Regions from separate parts of the Homo sapiens genome. Here region 1 is linked to region 2. Evidence: promoter capture Hi-C in human tissues and cell types (Jung and others, 2019). All regions are on one chromosome and are shown on one strand. Each heading gives the region's core, a stretch centred on a gene start or on the middle of the fragment in contact. The rest is flanking DNA. Distances are from core to core; before and after follow the strand shown. Region 1 overlaps LINC02691 (long intergenic non-protein coding RNA 2691). Region 2 holds the start of KIF26A (kinesin family member 26A).

Region 1 (7,101 bases), core at 199-2,698, 100 kb after region 2:
AGGGGTCATGCCACACCATGCAGGGCCACACAGGGCAGCACCAGGAGTGGCCAAGGGGGAAGAAGGAGTGACGGAAAAGCACGGGAAGGTCCGGCCAGGCAAGCAGGCTGACGATTGGCTCATTTCAGTCATTTTGGTGGGCTCTGGGGTACAGGTGCTGTCTCTAGTGGTCTGGTACCTGCCCTGGGGTAATCAGGGTGGGACTTGTGGCCACCCTGCTGAGTGTGAAAGCCCATAGAGGAGGTGGCATGGGTGCAGGTTCTGGATTAGCTGGTTTGCGTATGGAAGTTGTGCCCCAGTGTTTACACTCTCTAGGAACTGACTAGGCCTGGGAGGTGGCGGAGAGCAGTTTCTCCAGGGTCAGCAGGGTCCTGGGTGTCAAAAAGATATGTTTAACACACTTATTTTTCATGTTCTAGAAATCTTCAATCTCTTTGTTCTTCAGATGACATAGAAATTTCTGTCTTTAAGCTTGCTGACTCTCCTATCTCCAATCTGTTGTTAAACCTATCCAGTGTTTTAAAAAAAATTCAGCTATTATATTTTTCAGCTCTGGAATTACCCTTTAAACCTGGGACGTATTTATAATTGCTGACATAAAGCAATTTTTCTGTTTCTTTGTTTGGCTAGTCATTTTTTATTGTAAATTAGACATTGTAAATGGTACCTTGTGGAAACTCTGGATTCTGTTATCTTCCTCTGAGAAGTGCTGATTTTTGTCCCAGTAGCCTGTGCAGATCTCGATTTTATGCTTTGTTGAAACAGGTCCTGGAGGCCCATGGCGTTTACCCAGCCTCTACCTTGGTGACGCAAAGTCCCCACACTCTGTCTCCCCTGTGGACCTGGGGGCTCAGTGTTGGCGTTTTGAGGATGTGTCTGGAGCAGGGCTCTGAGCATGGTTGTGTCTCAGCTGCCTGCTCCACCTGCCAAGCTCGCCTCCTGACTTGGGTTGGTCCTGAGCCCCACCACCTTCCAGTGCTGCTAACTGCTACGCTCTCTGTCCTGCCTTTGCCCTGGAGAAGGGCACTTGGTCCTGCCCTCTGAATGCAAGGCCCCACCAGGGACCGTGAACCCTACACTCCCCTCCGGACCCTCTCTCTGGAATCCTGCCCCCCACAGTCCTGTCCCCTCAGTGCCTGAGCTCTGGTTTCTGCCTCCTGGGCTCAGCTTGCTGCCACACCCTGCCTGGGCTCCACTCCTGCATGAGTGGTGGGGAAATTGTCCTGGGTGGAGGGCTGGGCCAACGTGGCGCTCATCTCACAGGCTTTCCTTTTCTCCAGGATCACAGTCACATGCTGCCTGCACCAACACCCGAAGACCATCACCTAGTATATTCCCCCAGCGCTGGGGTTGCTTATGGTGGGAGGAAATGCACGGGCGGCAGAGGGCAAGGGCGTGGTCATTCTGATAGACCACGGGTGCCGAGGTGGGCACAGGAGGAAGGGCGGGCAGGAGAGGAAGTGTAAAGTGTCACTGGCTCAATGAGGACACGCGGTCCTGGTCGGGAGGAAGGCTGGGGGCTGGAAGTTGCGGAGGGTGGGAGTGCGGAGCATGGCAGGGCAGCGGCCGTGGAGCGGATGCTGGAGGTGGGTTTGTGGGTGATGACAGCCCAGGCTGCAGCCTCAGGAGGAGAGGACGGTCACTGGGTCAGGGGGCAGATGGACTGGCCGTCCCATGATGCTCAGAGGCTGTGAGTACGTTGGCTGGCTGGGGTTGCCATAGCCAGTACCACAGACCGGTGGGGCAAAAGCAGAAATGAACTTTCTCACGATGTTGGAGGCCGGAACTCTGAGGCCCTGGAATTGCAGGGCTGGTTTCCTCTCTGGCCCCGTCCTGGGCTTACAGATGCCACCTCCTCCCTGTTCCTCCGGGTGGTGTGCCTATGTCCTAATCTACTATCAGGACACCCCTCGGATGCAAACAGGGCCACCCTCATGACCTCCCTTTAATGGAATCAGCTCTTTAAAGAGCCTATCCCCAAATACAGTCCCATTCTGAGGTCCTGGAGTTTAGGGCTCTGATATCTGAATTTTGGGAGGTGGATACCATCCTGTCCCTCCCAGCGAGTGGCCCAAAGCTGAAGCCATTGATGAGTGACTGACAAGCAGCAGCCATGGCGGAGGGACCAATCCTGAGCTGGAGTTGGGGCTGTGGGGGCCTGAAGGACTGTAGGGGTTCTGGGGAGAGCCAGATGTCAGCTGTAGCGAGAAGAGAAAGACTGCCAGACGTGCGGCTGAGGAGGAGCCAGGCTACGCCTGCCCTCAGGCCCCCGAGAGTGTGGAGGCCCCTGGCCATGCACCGGAGGAGCCTCTGATGGATGCTTCATAAGAGTGGTGCCCACACTGCAGCCACCTCCGCTGCCAGGGACCCCTCCGGTGAACACGTTGGCTCCTCCTCAGGGAAGGGGCAAGTTTCGTGGCTTGACCGGAGGGCCCTAGGTGAGCAGTGCCGCGTTGTCTTTGGAGGAGGTTTCTCCTTTGGCCTCGGTTTGTCCTCTGTGTCATGGGGGTGATTGTCCCTGAACTTTCTGGCTGCTCAGGGCTGGATTTAGGCTCTGGGGAGGCCATGGGGGTGTTTCTTGAAGACCGAAGCCATGCTCGAGGCTGTGACTCCTGCGAGACAGGGCCTGAGGGGAAGCCCCGGGGTGAGTGGGTCTGTTTGAGGCTGGCTGGGTGTATGGGCCACTGTCTCAATCCCTTTGGCTCAAGCTGGTGATCATGAAGTGACCTCCCATGCCTAACTTATTTTGGATGGGTCTGAAGGCCACAGCACAAGCATCAGGGTGCTGGAGGCACTGCCAGGAGGGGTGGGAGAACAAGGCTGCCCTGGGAGTCCTGGAGAGGGGCCCCAAACATGGGTGGAGGTGGCCTCTGGGCTGGCCCTGAAGGCTGCAGGGGTGGGGGTGTAGTTGGCCTATGCCCTGTGGGGGAGGGAGCTGGTGAGTCCTGGGCCAGGGCAGGGCAGGGGGCAGAGCTATGAGAAAGGACGGCAGAAGGGGTGTGAAGAGAAAGTGAGGGGCTCAGGTGCCAAGGCCTTGGAGGTGGTGGGGCTGGGGGCAGGCGCTGCAGTTCTCAGCATGAGACGGGGGGCAGCAAGGACCCCACCTGCGCTGGCAGGCCCTGCTGCCCCTCTAGCCAGGAGGAGAATGCTTTTTCATAGGGGGAGGAAGGAGAAAAATGACTTCGGGCTCCTGGCAACTTCAGCAATCAGCTCCTTGTCAAGCAAATAAAATGCTTTTGAATGTCCAGATTAATGATTGATCAGCACAACGCGAGCCTGTTGGAAGCTTCCAGTTGGCCCACGTGGGGGTCCCCGCTGCAGGCGCTGGTAAAGTGACACCCCGTTAGTCACTTCTCTGCGTGTGCTTGGGAGAAGCCCACACACACATGCTGGTGCCTGACGTGGGGTTATTTCTGTGCTGAGGAGGCAGGAAACGGCAGAGGAGGCAGCTTCCAGGGCAGGGAGCACTGGGGCGGCCTGGCCCAGGAGGGTGCTTCATGGCCATGGGACAAGGCCCACACCAGGCCCTGGTGACGCTGGGCGAGAGCCTCTGTGTGGGCGAGGAGGCTGGGGCTGGCCGGTCCACTCGCCCAGAAATGCCAGAGGTGCCCAATGCCATGCGGCCTGGGGGATGCTTGGACCCGGAGTGATGACAGTGGCTGGTCATTTGCACCTTGAATTAAGCAGAATAAATCAAATAAGAGAACAAAGCCGATTCTTGTTTTGATGCTTATTTTATTTTTGAATGCAACACCCATATAGAAAAGGACATGCATCATAAATGTACAACAGGATGTGTAACTTCAGAGCCCGCATCTGTGTGACTGCCATCCAGATCACCCGGTAGAGTTCCCCAGCCTCATTCCCCTCCCCCTGCACCCTTCCAGCAGAGCCCCTGCACCTGCGGTCACTCTTGCCTCCTCCTTATATGGGCAACACTTCTGTCCTAGCAACCCTAAACAAGCTGGTGTGGCTTTCCCCGTCGGGGCCAGGGTGGGGGTTTATGTAAATAGAATAAAGCTAGGTGATTGCTTTGTTCCTTGTTTCTTTCACCTGCTGTTTTGTCTGATGTGCAGCCAACCTTGATAACATTGCATCTTCCTGTATAGGGGTGTGAAATAATCTCAGTGTGTTGAGTTCTTGGTTTCTCTAGCTATAGTCCGTTGGCTTCCATGGCTCCACCATGTTCCATCATGCGAACATACAACAGGCTTCTCATCCATTCTGCTGTTGATGAACACTTGGGTGGTATCTGAATTGGCTGAGTGGCCCATGCTACTGTGAACACTCTCGCCCATGTGCCCACTTGTCCTAGGGTCCCTCCCCAGGAGTGGAATTGCCAGGTCATGAGATGTGCGCCTCTTCAACCCTTTTAGATAATGCCAATCTGTTATTGTTTCTAATTAATAGACTATTTTTTTAGTCTGGACGCGGTGGCTCACGCCTGTAATCTCAGCACTTTGAGACACCAAGCTGGGCAGATCACCTGGGGTCAGGAGTTCAAGACCAGCCTGGCCAACATGGCGAAACCCAATCTCTACTAAAAACAAAACAAAAATTAGCTGGGCATAGTGGCACATGCCTGTAATCCCAGCTACTTGGGAGGCTGAGGCAGGAGAATAGCTTGAACCTGGGAGGTGGAGGTTGCAGTGAGCCAAGATTGCGCCACTGCACTCCAGCCTGGGTGACAGAGTGAGACTCCATCTCAAAAAAAAAAAAAAAAAAAAAAGAAAAGAAAAAAAGACTATTTTTTGAGCAGTTATAGGTTTACAAAAAAAAAAAAAATTCTTCCTTGAGGGTATCCGGGCAGCTCTAGGCTCTTTATGCTACTATTCACATTATACAGTCAGTTTGTTAAGCTTCCCATAGACACAGAACCAAGTGCTGTTGGGGTTTTGGGTGGAATATTATTGAACCAAAGCAATTCAGGAAGAACTGGCATCTTCACAGGTTGTATCTTCCAATACAGGAGCATGTTTTATCTTGTTATTTGGTGTTCCTTATTTCTGTCAATACAATTTTTAGTCTCAGATAAATTTGTTAGATATATTCCTAGATGCCCAATATTCTTTGATGCTTTTAAATTACATTTTTTTACTTGTTTGTTGATGTAGAAATACAATTTGAATTTGTTTTTCCTGTTTTTGTTTGTTTGTTTGGTTGGTTTTGTCTCCTGTTGCATTTTGGACACTGTCTTTAGATTGGTTTTCTAGTTTATTCATCTTTCTTTAGCTGTATAAAATCTGCTGTTAAAACTTATGCATTGGCCGGGCATGGTGGCTCACACCTGTAATCCCAGCACTTTGGGAGGCTGAGGCGGGCGGATCATGAGGTCAGGAGATCAAGACCATCCTGGCCAACACGGTGAAACCCCGTCTCTACTAAAAAAAAAAAAAAAAAAAAAAAAAAAAAAAAATTAGCCGGGCGTGGTGGCGGGTGCCTGTAGTCCCAGCTACTCGGGAGGCTGAGGCAGGAGAATGGCGCGAACCCGGGAGGCGGAGCTTGCAGTGAGCTGAGATCGCGCCACTGCACTCCAGCTTGGGCGACAGAGCCAGACTCTGTCTCAAACAACAACAACAACAAAAAAAAAAACAACTTAGGCATTGAGTTCTAATTTTTGGTTAATTTTCAGTTTTAAATATTTTTATTTGGTTCTTTTCCAAATCTTCTCTGACATGTTTTATAGTTTTCAGTCTCCTGTGATATGTTTGAATTTTTGAATCTTTTAAACTTAGCAAGCATCGTTATTTGATGTGATCTGATCTTCTGCTTATAATTCCAAAACCTGAAGTCTTTGTGCATCTGTTTCTATTGTCTTTTGTTTTTGCTGGCTCTTGATTGTGAATTTAATTTCATTTTGTGTGTGGTTATCTTTGTGTGCTAGAGATTGTATTGAAAAATTGCTTGTAAGAATAATTTGAGCCTTAGGATGATAGTTCCTCTCCTTTCCTCTCCTCTCCTCTCCTCTCCTCTCCTGTCCCCTCCTCTCCTCTCCTCTCCTCTCCTCCCCTCTCCTCTTCTGTCCCCTCCCCTCCTCTCCTCTCCTCTCCCCTCCTCTCCTCTCCCCTCCCCTCCCCTCCCCTCTGCTCCCCTCCCCTCCCCTCCCCTCCCCTCTTCTTTTCTTTTCTTTTCTTGATGAGTTTCACTTTGTTGCCCAGGCTGGAGTGTAGTGGTGTGAGCTCAGCTAACTGTAACCTCCACCTCCCGGGTTCAAGCGATTCTCCTGCCTCAGCCTCCTGAGTAGCTGGGATTACAGGCATGTGCCACCATACCCGGCTAATTTTTGTATTTTTAGTAGAGGCAGAGTTTCACCATGTTGGCCAGGCTGGTCTCCAACTCCTGACCTCAAGTATACCAAAGTCCTGGGATTACAGGCATGAGCCACGGCACCTGGCCAATAGTACCTTTCTTTAAGGATGGTGTTGGTTTGCTTTTTGCAGGTGCCTAGTGGGGCACTACCTGTCTGGAAGTATTTTACACGAAGTTTAAGCCTTGAGATTTCCTGGAGCAGGACCTCTGAAGTCACCATCACAAATGGCAGGCCCACACAAGGACTGATTTACTTCTGACTCACCCATGGCCTTCAGGCTTAGAGTTGGGGCCTTGTCGGATTCCTCTCTCTTACCAACTCTGGGCTTTGACTCTGTTGTCCCTAATGCCATGCTGATAAATAATTAATAACTGGCTCTTCATAAAAAAAAACAGTTTTGATCTGTAGCACCTGCCAATTCCCATGGTGTAAACACTCCTGCCATGGCTGACTTCAAGTTACCAACACAACATCACTGAGTGTGGGATTGGAAAAAGATGCCCATGGCTGGCTCTTAAGAGTCCTCTGAGCCTTGCTGGTTCTCCCTCACCTGCCATTGAGGGGGCTGATGGGTGCAACAGTCATTCCTGAGGCTGCAAAGTTCTTTAAAGCAGAAGCAGCTGACTCTTGCTTATGTTTTGCAGTACTTGCTGGGCTCTCAACTCCTCCAAGGTTTTGGCCTGGTAGTGCATTCTTTGCTACCTGATTTGCTCTTTTCTGCTTTAAAGAAGATTGGAAAAAAATTTTTTTTTTGAGACAGGGTCTCACTCTGTCACCTAGGCTGATCGTGG
Region 2 (7,170 bases), core at 793-3,292:
CCTGGACTCGGAGATCATCCTGGGCTTCACCAGCCACCTCCTGCGGCGACGAGGCAAGGTGAGGGCTGTCGGGAGGGGGGCGGGCGGCGTAGGCGCCGTCCCGTTACTTTGCCGCGCGGCTCGCGCGGCCGGGGGTGCTGCGCCGGGAAGGAGACGGCAGGTCCGGAGCCGCGTCCCGCAGCCCGGGCTGGGACTCGCTGCCGCACTTTCCCCCATTAGCGTTGTCCAAGTCTCCCTCTGCCTTCAAGGCTGTGTCCCAACCGGACCCACCCGGAGGCTGTGGCTAGGGCGGAGAGCGCAGCGCAGGGATTCTCGGGCTCACCTTGCGCCTTGCTAGGATGGGCGAAGTAGGGGGTCGGGGCCCCTGACTGATCGTGAGCCCCCGAGGTGACTCCAGCCTTGTGCACCCCGTGTTCTGCGGATATGGGATGTGAGCTTGTGCTTCCCGAAGCGCCGCGGCGGTAGAAGCGCTGAAGTTGCGGGTGTGGCTGGCCAGGGGCGCAGGACCGGTGCTCCCGACCGCTGCGTGCTTCTGTGTTGCGTGTGTGGGTGGGGGGACGGGATATAGAGAGTGTGTGTCCCGGAGCAGTGGAGCGGCGGGAGGCGGTGCTGTCTGCCGGCAGTGCGGGGTGGGGTTTGGGTGTTGTCCTCAGTACCCAGATCCAGATGTGGGCTGACGCCCGTTTTCATTCTCCAGGCTGCGAAGAGACGGGTAGGGGAAGCGCTTCCGGCCCCCCAGGCTGGGTGGAAAGCGACTGCAGGCTTACGGATCTCAGAAAGAGTGGAGAGCCCCTGCCACTTTATTCCATACCCCCTTGCGTTTTCGAACCCCTAAGGTCATCAACGACCCGGAAAGCCGGGAGGGGATCACCCACCCCACTTTCTGGGGAGTGCGTGCGTGGGCGGGGAGGCTTATCCAAGTAAAAGGGGGTGGGCAAAACGGAAAGGGTCACTTTGACGTACTGAGTCTCTGCGAAGGCCTCACCGTATGTGCCGGCAGCCGCGTGTCCTGGTCTCCGCCGGGTCACGACCTTCGGAGTTTCCGAGTGCGCCTCAGGCCTGGGACGCGCGGCGCTGTCTCCCCAGTCTCGGAGCCGTGTGCGCAGCGGCCGGCAGGGGGCACTCGCGTCACGGGGAGCCCGCCCGCCGCGCCCGCCTGGCTTGACCCGGGCTTTGGGGCTGACCCGGAGCCTGGCCCGGAGCTGCCTGCGGCCGCGGATGCCGGCGACATTTGGGGCCCGGCTAGGCACAGAGCAACTGGTCGCCAGGGAAGGGCGGGGGGGCGGCCTCCCAGCCGGAGACAAACAAGCAATTAATTCCGGAGCTGAGTTCCCATCTGCCAGGCCTGCTGACAACAGGTCCGGCGCACGCCCGCAGGACCTCCCGCTTCCCGGGCGGCACGGCGCGCACACCCACTTGCGGGCACACGCGCGGCTGTAAAGACACGTGCCGTTCGCAGACGCGCCGAGGCACAGATACGCCGGCGCGGTCGCTGCCCGGCTCGAGGCGCACACCGCGGCGACACTAACCCACGCGCGACAGTTAGACCTAAAGTGGCCCGCGACACGCAGAGTACGCTGGGCTTGCTGGAAAGGCGCCTGGGAGTCTCGGGGCCGGGGTCCCGCCCCTTCCTCGGCCCACCTCGCCGTGGGCCTTGGGCAAGAGCGTCCCCTCCGCAGCCTCAGTTTTCCCGCCTGTAGAGGGAGGGGCGTCGGCGCCTCCTGGGAGACGCGCAGCCCTGGTGTCCCGGGAGAGGGGCGGGAGGCGCATGCGCGCGCGCAACTAGATCCTCGCCGCCGCCCCCAGCGCCCCTCCCCGGGGCAGGGACTCACCTAACAGGTTGGGGTCCTTGGAGTGCGCGGGGCCGCGTGGGGAAGCGGGGACCCTACCCCCCCCACGCGCCGCCCAGCACTGGGCAAGGGCGGGGCACTCTCTGGGCTCCCGCCCCTCGCCGCCCGCCCCGGGAGCCCGAGCCCCGCCCTTCCCCGGCCCCGCCCTCGCCTCCCGAGCGCGCCCACCGGAGCCACCGCGCTCCTCGCGACACTCGCAGGCTCTGCGAACTTCCGAGCGGCTGGGCCGGGCCATGGGGGCGCCTCGGGGCCGGATCACGTAGCCGCGGCGCCCCCGGAGAGCCAGCGTGGCCGGGAGCGCCTGCCGGGCTCTTCCCGCGCCCCGGCCATGGTCGGCCGCGGCGTCCCTCTGTGCGCTGCGCAGCCCGCGGTACGCGCGGCCCGGCCTGGAGAGGGAGGCGGGCGGCGGGGGCCCGGGACGGCGAAGATACTCGCGGTGTGCGCTGGATCCCTGGGGGCCGGGCCTCCTGCTGAGGGTAGCGGACCCGCAGGCGGGACCTCCGGGGATGGAGGGAGTGGGTGAGCGCCAGGGTCGTGCCCAGGGCTCCTAACTTTGGCAAGAGCGTCACGCTGGGGCAGGGCGCGCAGGGGTCTGGATCCGACGGACGTCCCAGGCTCACTGTCCGCTTCCGCCCCCACACCCTGCAGGTGGCCGAGGGCGGCCCGGCCCGCGAGCCGCCGCCGCTGCTGGAGGTGTCCCCCCGAAAGAGGCTACCCGCCGGGCCCGACCAGGACCCATGCGGCAGCCGCCCTGCTCCCGAAGGCGCCGGGGCCGGCCCAGAGCAGGGCCACTCGGCCGGCGGAGGCGGCTGGTGCCGCCACTGCCACACGAAGCTGGTGGAGCTCAAGCGACAGGCGTGGAAGCTGGTCAGCGGGCCCGGGACCACCCTCCGGGTAAGTGACACTTCCTTAGGCCGACCCCTCCGAGCAGGGCCACGCCGAACTTGGGTAGAACTTGGGGCTTGGAGGGAAGCAGGGTTCCACTCCTTCCCTGCTGCTGTTTCCACAAAGAGTTATCAGCCAGGACTTCCCTTCTGCGGGCCTCAGTTTCCCGGTCTGTAACACCATGTGTGAGCTAGGGAGCTCAGCCCGAGGGGCCCTGCTGCCTCGGATGGGAGGGGCCTGGGCTGGCGTTCCTCCCCCAGCCCAGATGTCCCACAGCTGGAACGCAGGTTTGTGTGGGAGGAGGAGGGGAGAGAGCGGATGGCAGGGACTCCACCCAGGGCGGGACAGCTCCAGCCCTACCAGCAGGGAGAGGTTATTTGGTGCATTGTGGCCCTTGGGGCACCTGGGCCCCCAGCCAGGTGTCTGGAAATTACATACCTGGGGCCGGGGGGCCTGGCAGGTGAAAGGGTGGGCCACAGCAGCTGGGGGGTCCCTGCCTACTCCTCTCCCAGCCTCAAGGATAAGAACTGTTGTCCCATACCTCCTGGGATAGACTGAGGCAGTGGCCGCCCATGGGGAATTGAGTCGGGGCCCTCTGGGTTCCCCAGGCTCCAGCCCCAGGGGCAGGTGCTTGCAGGGGAGGGGTTCTCCTGGATTTCCAGCCAGTGGGCCTGCCGGCTTTGGAGGGAGCAGGGACCATTGTTCCAGGAACAATGCATGCTGGAAGTTTGCAAAGGCTGGGGGCGGGTGGGGGTCTCCAGAGGAAGCCCGCTGCCGGGCCTTCAGCCTTTATGAAAGAGTTCCTGGGAAGTCCGCATAATCCCCATTGAATCTAAATATAGTTCTCTAAGGGCTGTGGGGGTTGGAGTGAGCTGAGACCCTGACTGCCCTGTCTGGGGCAGGGCAGGGTGGGGCAGGGTACCAGTCTGGTTTCTGTCCTGGGCACCGTCTCCGGGCTCTCTGGAGTCTCGGCGAGGGATAGGATTGCTGTAGCCTCTCTCTGGCTCAGGCCAGGCGCCTGTGGGCCTGTCCTGGGGTGGGGCTGGACCCGCCCTGTCCTCTGCTCTGGACAGGCTGCAGCCTTGGCCATACTCTGTGCCCCAGTGGCCTGTATCTAGTTTAAAAGGTAGCAGGAGACCCTTGAGGGCCCCCTGGAGAGGGCCAGCCAGAGCTAAAGGCCCATCTTGCTGCCCCATTAGGGGAAACACGCCAGAGACAGGAGGGGCATTAAGATTGAGCTGGTCTCCTCATTCTTGGAGTGGGCTTGGACTGCTGATGCTGCCTGGCCCTGGGGCCATGGTCCTGGCATGGACTCGTGGAGGGGAGGGGGCTCCTGGTCACGGGCAGGCCAGGGGTCCTAGTGGAGAGGGCTGCAGGTGATACTAGTCCCTGGTGGATTCTAGGTTCCTCATCTAGGGGGGTGTCTTGGTCTCTTCTGGCAGACAGGTCTTCAGGGGAGCCCCAGACCACCCATCTCCAGCCTCCCCTGAGCTTGGCCTTTGACACTGGAAACTCCTCTTGAGTGCCAGCTGGGGGCTCCCCCTTCCCTAGCTGGCGCTGGCACTCAGCACACCGGGGTCCCGGGCTGGTCTCAGCCAGGGCTTTGTTCTGCTCTGGGCCCCCTTCTTCTGCTTTGTGGTCTCCTCTGTCACCTGGGGCCTGTTGTGAAGTGCTGTCCCACCTGCAGGGTGCTGTGCCCCCGGGAGAGAAGACCCCATCCTCCACTGTCTCTCCACAGGGCATGGGGGGCTGCACCTGCCATCCTGGGGCCTTACGGGTGTCATTGTCCTGTCCCCTGTGCGGGCCTGGGCTGTCCCCAGAGTCCCAGCAAAATTGCAGCCTGCAGCCCTGGCCTGGCCCGCTGGGCCCAGATGTGTGGACATGGCTGCTTCTGTGTTTGGGTTGGGAGGGAAATCTCTGGGGTGGCCAGGGAGACCCCAGTGTGCTCCCCGGAGTCTGGTGCACTGTCCAGTGGGCCCTGGCCTCTGCTCTGTAAGGCCAACGTGGCAAGGGGTATTTAGGGTTGGTGTTCTAGGATTTCCCCAGGGGCCCGTTTCGTATTTTTTAGGGGAGAGATGAGCTTCCTTGAGGATAGCTGTTTACAGGGAACTTCACAATCATCCATCTGTCTCATGCTTGGATCTTCAGAAGCCCAGAGAAGTGGAGAGACTTGCTGGGACCCGGCCTGGCTATTAGAGGCCCTCGCCTCCGGGCTTCCTGCCTGTCTCCGTTGTAGAGGGAGGCGTAGAGGGTCGGGGCCCAGCCTGCCAGGGTCTCCCTGCCTGTCTCCGTTGTAGAGGGAGGCGTAGAGGGTCGGGGCCCAGCCTGCCAGGGTCTCCCTGCCTGTCTCCGTTGTAGAGGGAGGCGTAGAGGGTCGGGGCCCAGCCTGCCGGGGTCTCCCTGCCTGTCTCCGTTGTAGAGGGAGGCGTAGAGGGTCGGGCCCAGCCTGCCAGGGTCTCCTTGAATGTGTTGCTCTTTAGCAACACCCGATGCCTGCATGGTCCTGCCTATGCTCATCCCCTGCTGGGCCCTTGCCCACCCTCCTGCCAGGAGGCAGCTCCCCTGAGCAGGTTCCCGAGAGTTCTTGGCCACTGTTTCCTGCTCTGCGACATGGGACCGTCTTTGTGCCCATTGCATAGGTACGTAGAGCAGTGCCCGGAAGGGATGCACTCTCACCTTGGCAGCTGCTGCTGCTGTTTGCTGAGTTAGGGACTCCGAGTCCCTGGGGCTGTTGGAGCCCAGGTTCCCGGCCTACCTCTCCCTTGCTGTGTGCTCTTGTCTGCCTGAGCCTGTCTCAGTTCCCTTGTCTGGGCAGTGAGGGTGACCATGGTCCCCTATCTGGGGACCTCATCCCTGTGGCATGGATAAGACTGTGCCCTCCCCACCTTTCTGAGCTCTGGTGCCCCGTCTGGGGCCGTAGGGGAGGGGGACATTGTCTTCCTGCCCCTGTTGGAGCCCCAGGGGATTGTCTTTCCTGATCTGAGAAGGGTGCTTGGCCCTGGGTGTGGAGGGGAAGCCCCATGATGGGACTCTGGCCGTGGCTCCTGCTCCTCACTGTGTCCCCACACTGTGCCCTCTGCTCTCACCAGGGTCCTCAGGCCTTGTCTCCGGGCTGACTACTTCAGGACCCCCATGGCCTGGAGCGGCCCCCTGTGGCCTGGCCTCCTGTGGCCTCCAGGGACCTTTCTCTAATGGGCTGCTCTGTCTGCCCTGCCATAGATGCTGTCCTCATCCCAAGACCCCCTGGCCTCCCTGGGCTGGAGGCCCCTCAGTGTCCCTGCTCTGGCCTCAGGGGCCCCTTCTCAGGTGCCCCCAACTCTGAGATGTCCCTGTGGGAGGTTGCAGCCTGGTGCCTCCCATTCAGCAGGCAAAGCTGGGGCCTCCCTCTTTCTCCACATCTAAGGCCCCCCTCGCTTCCCCATGCTCACCCACCACCGCAAACTGTTGTGGCAGACCTCTTCCCTCTCCCTGACCCCAGTCCTGGTTTCCCCCACAAGCAGGAGCTCTGCCAGGTCAGGCATGGGGTCCGGGTCACCTGGAGGTGTTTGTTGAATGACTGAATGACCAGGCTTTTCCTCCCACACCCCACTTGCTGGTGGTCACCCCCGGGACTGCTGGGGCTGGATTCCGGCTATCCGCCCCTCAAAATGACAGTTCCCATGGAGGATGACCATCCCCCTCCCCCACAAAGGATGGTTCCCTGCTTCAAGGAGAGGGTCCCTGCTTGGGGATCCATTCCAGCTGCTGACAGACACGTCATGTGAGGTGTTGACTCCTCCTGAGACCCCGTGACATTTGAAGCGTCAGTACCGGTGCTGAATTGATTATCGCCCCCGATGGGGAAAATGATCAATTCTCATTTAGCTCCCGTGCATCTCTTGCTTATCCAGGCAGGGGCCTCATCCTTATGCCCCCAAGAGCTCCAGAACCACTGTTGGTGCCGCCTGCTGGTGCCACGCAGCTGAACAGTGAGGGAAGCTGCCCATCGAGGCTGTGGCTCTGGACTCTCCTCCCGGCGAAGCTCCGGGTGGCCCCTGTGTACAGGGAATCAGTTGTCATGGTCTGAGGCTGGGAGCCCTCCTACCGCTCTGTGTGGCTTGGCGAGTCCTGTTTCTCCTTGGACGCTGCTCATGGGCTTCTGTTTGCTTCTCCTGTTGCCTCTCTGGTTTGACTGGAGGTGACTCCTGCCAGCTTTTCGTTCCTCCTGCCAGCTTTTCGTTCCTCCTCTGTCACTTGTCCGAGGAAGCCCTCTTAGCCCCCTGGATGGATGGGGGCATCTCTGTCTCCACAGCCCCCAGGCCTGTGATTTGGGGGTCCCAGGTCTGTTGCCCCCAAATAGGCAATGGTCCTGGGAGGGTAGGAGCTGCGCCCGAGTGGTCCCATGACGGATGCTCGCCACTTGTGGTCAGAGCCCCTGGGCCCCCAGACTTGGGGC

The links. Contacts are between HindIII fragments. The study calls those that stand out against the background at their distance.
Region 1: a fragment that was not itself captured here is called in contact with the fragment with the promoter of KIF26A in region 2 in 3 of the 25 tissues and cell types used here (dorsolateral prefrontal cortex, mesendoderm cells and pancreas).

What each region holds. Positions count from the first base shown.
Region 1 is chr14:104,236,657-104,243,757 of GRCh38, forward strand. The region is part of intron 1 of LINC02691 (long intergenic non-protein coding RNA 2691); the gene reads left to right. Among named protein-coding and RNA genes, the nearest start is that of LINC02691, 17 kb to the left of the region's middle. RefSeq lists enhancers at 982-1,483, 2,335-3,180, 3,181-4,025. The HindIII fragment of the contact is 5,247 bases long and covers 1-4,072 here.
Region 2 is chr14:104,136,545-104,143,714 of GRCh38, forward strand. KIF26A (kinesin family member 26A) reads left to right here and starts at 2,043. Exons shown (of 15, transcript NM_015656.2): 1 at 2,043-2,220; 2 at 2,499-2,744. The coding sequence starts at 2,179. KIF26A-DT (KIF26A divergent transcript) reads right to left here and starts at 2,085. Exons shown (of 3, transcript NR_158217.1): 1 at 986-2,085; 2 at 323-698. RefSeq lists enhancers at 1-633, 634-1,345 and a silencer at 1,042-1,211. The HindIII fragment of the contact is 16,750 bases long and covers 1-7,170 here.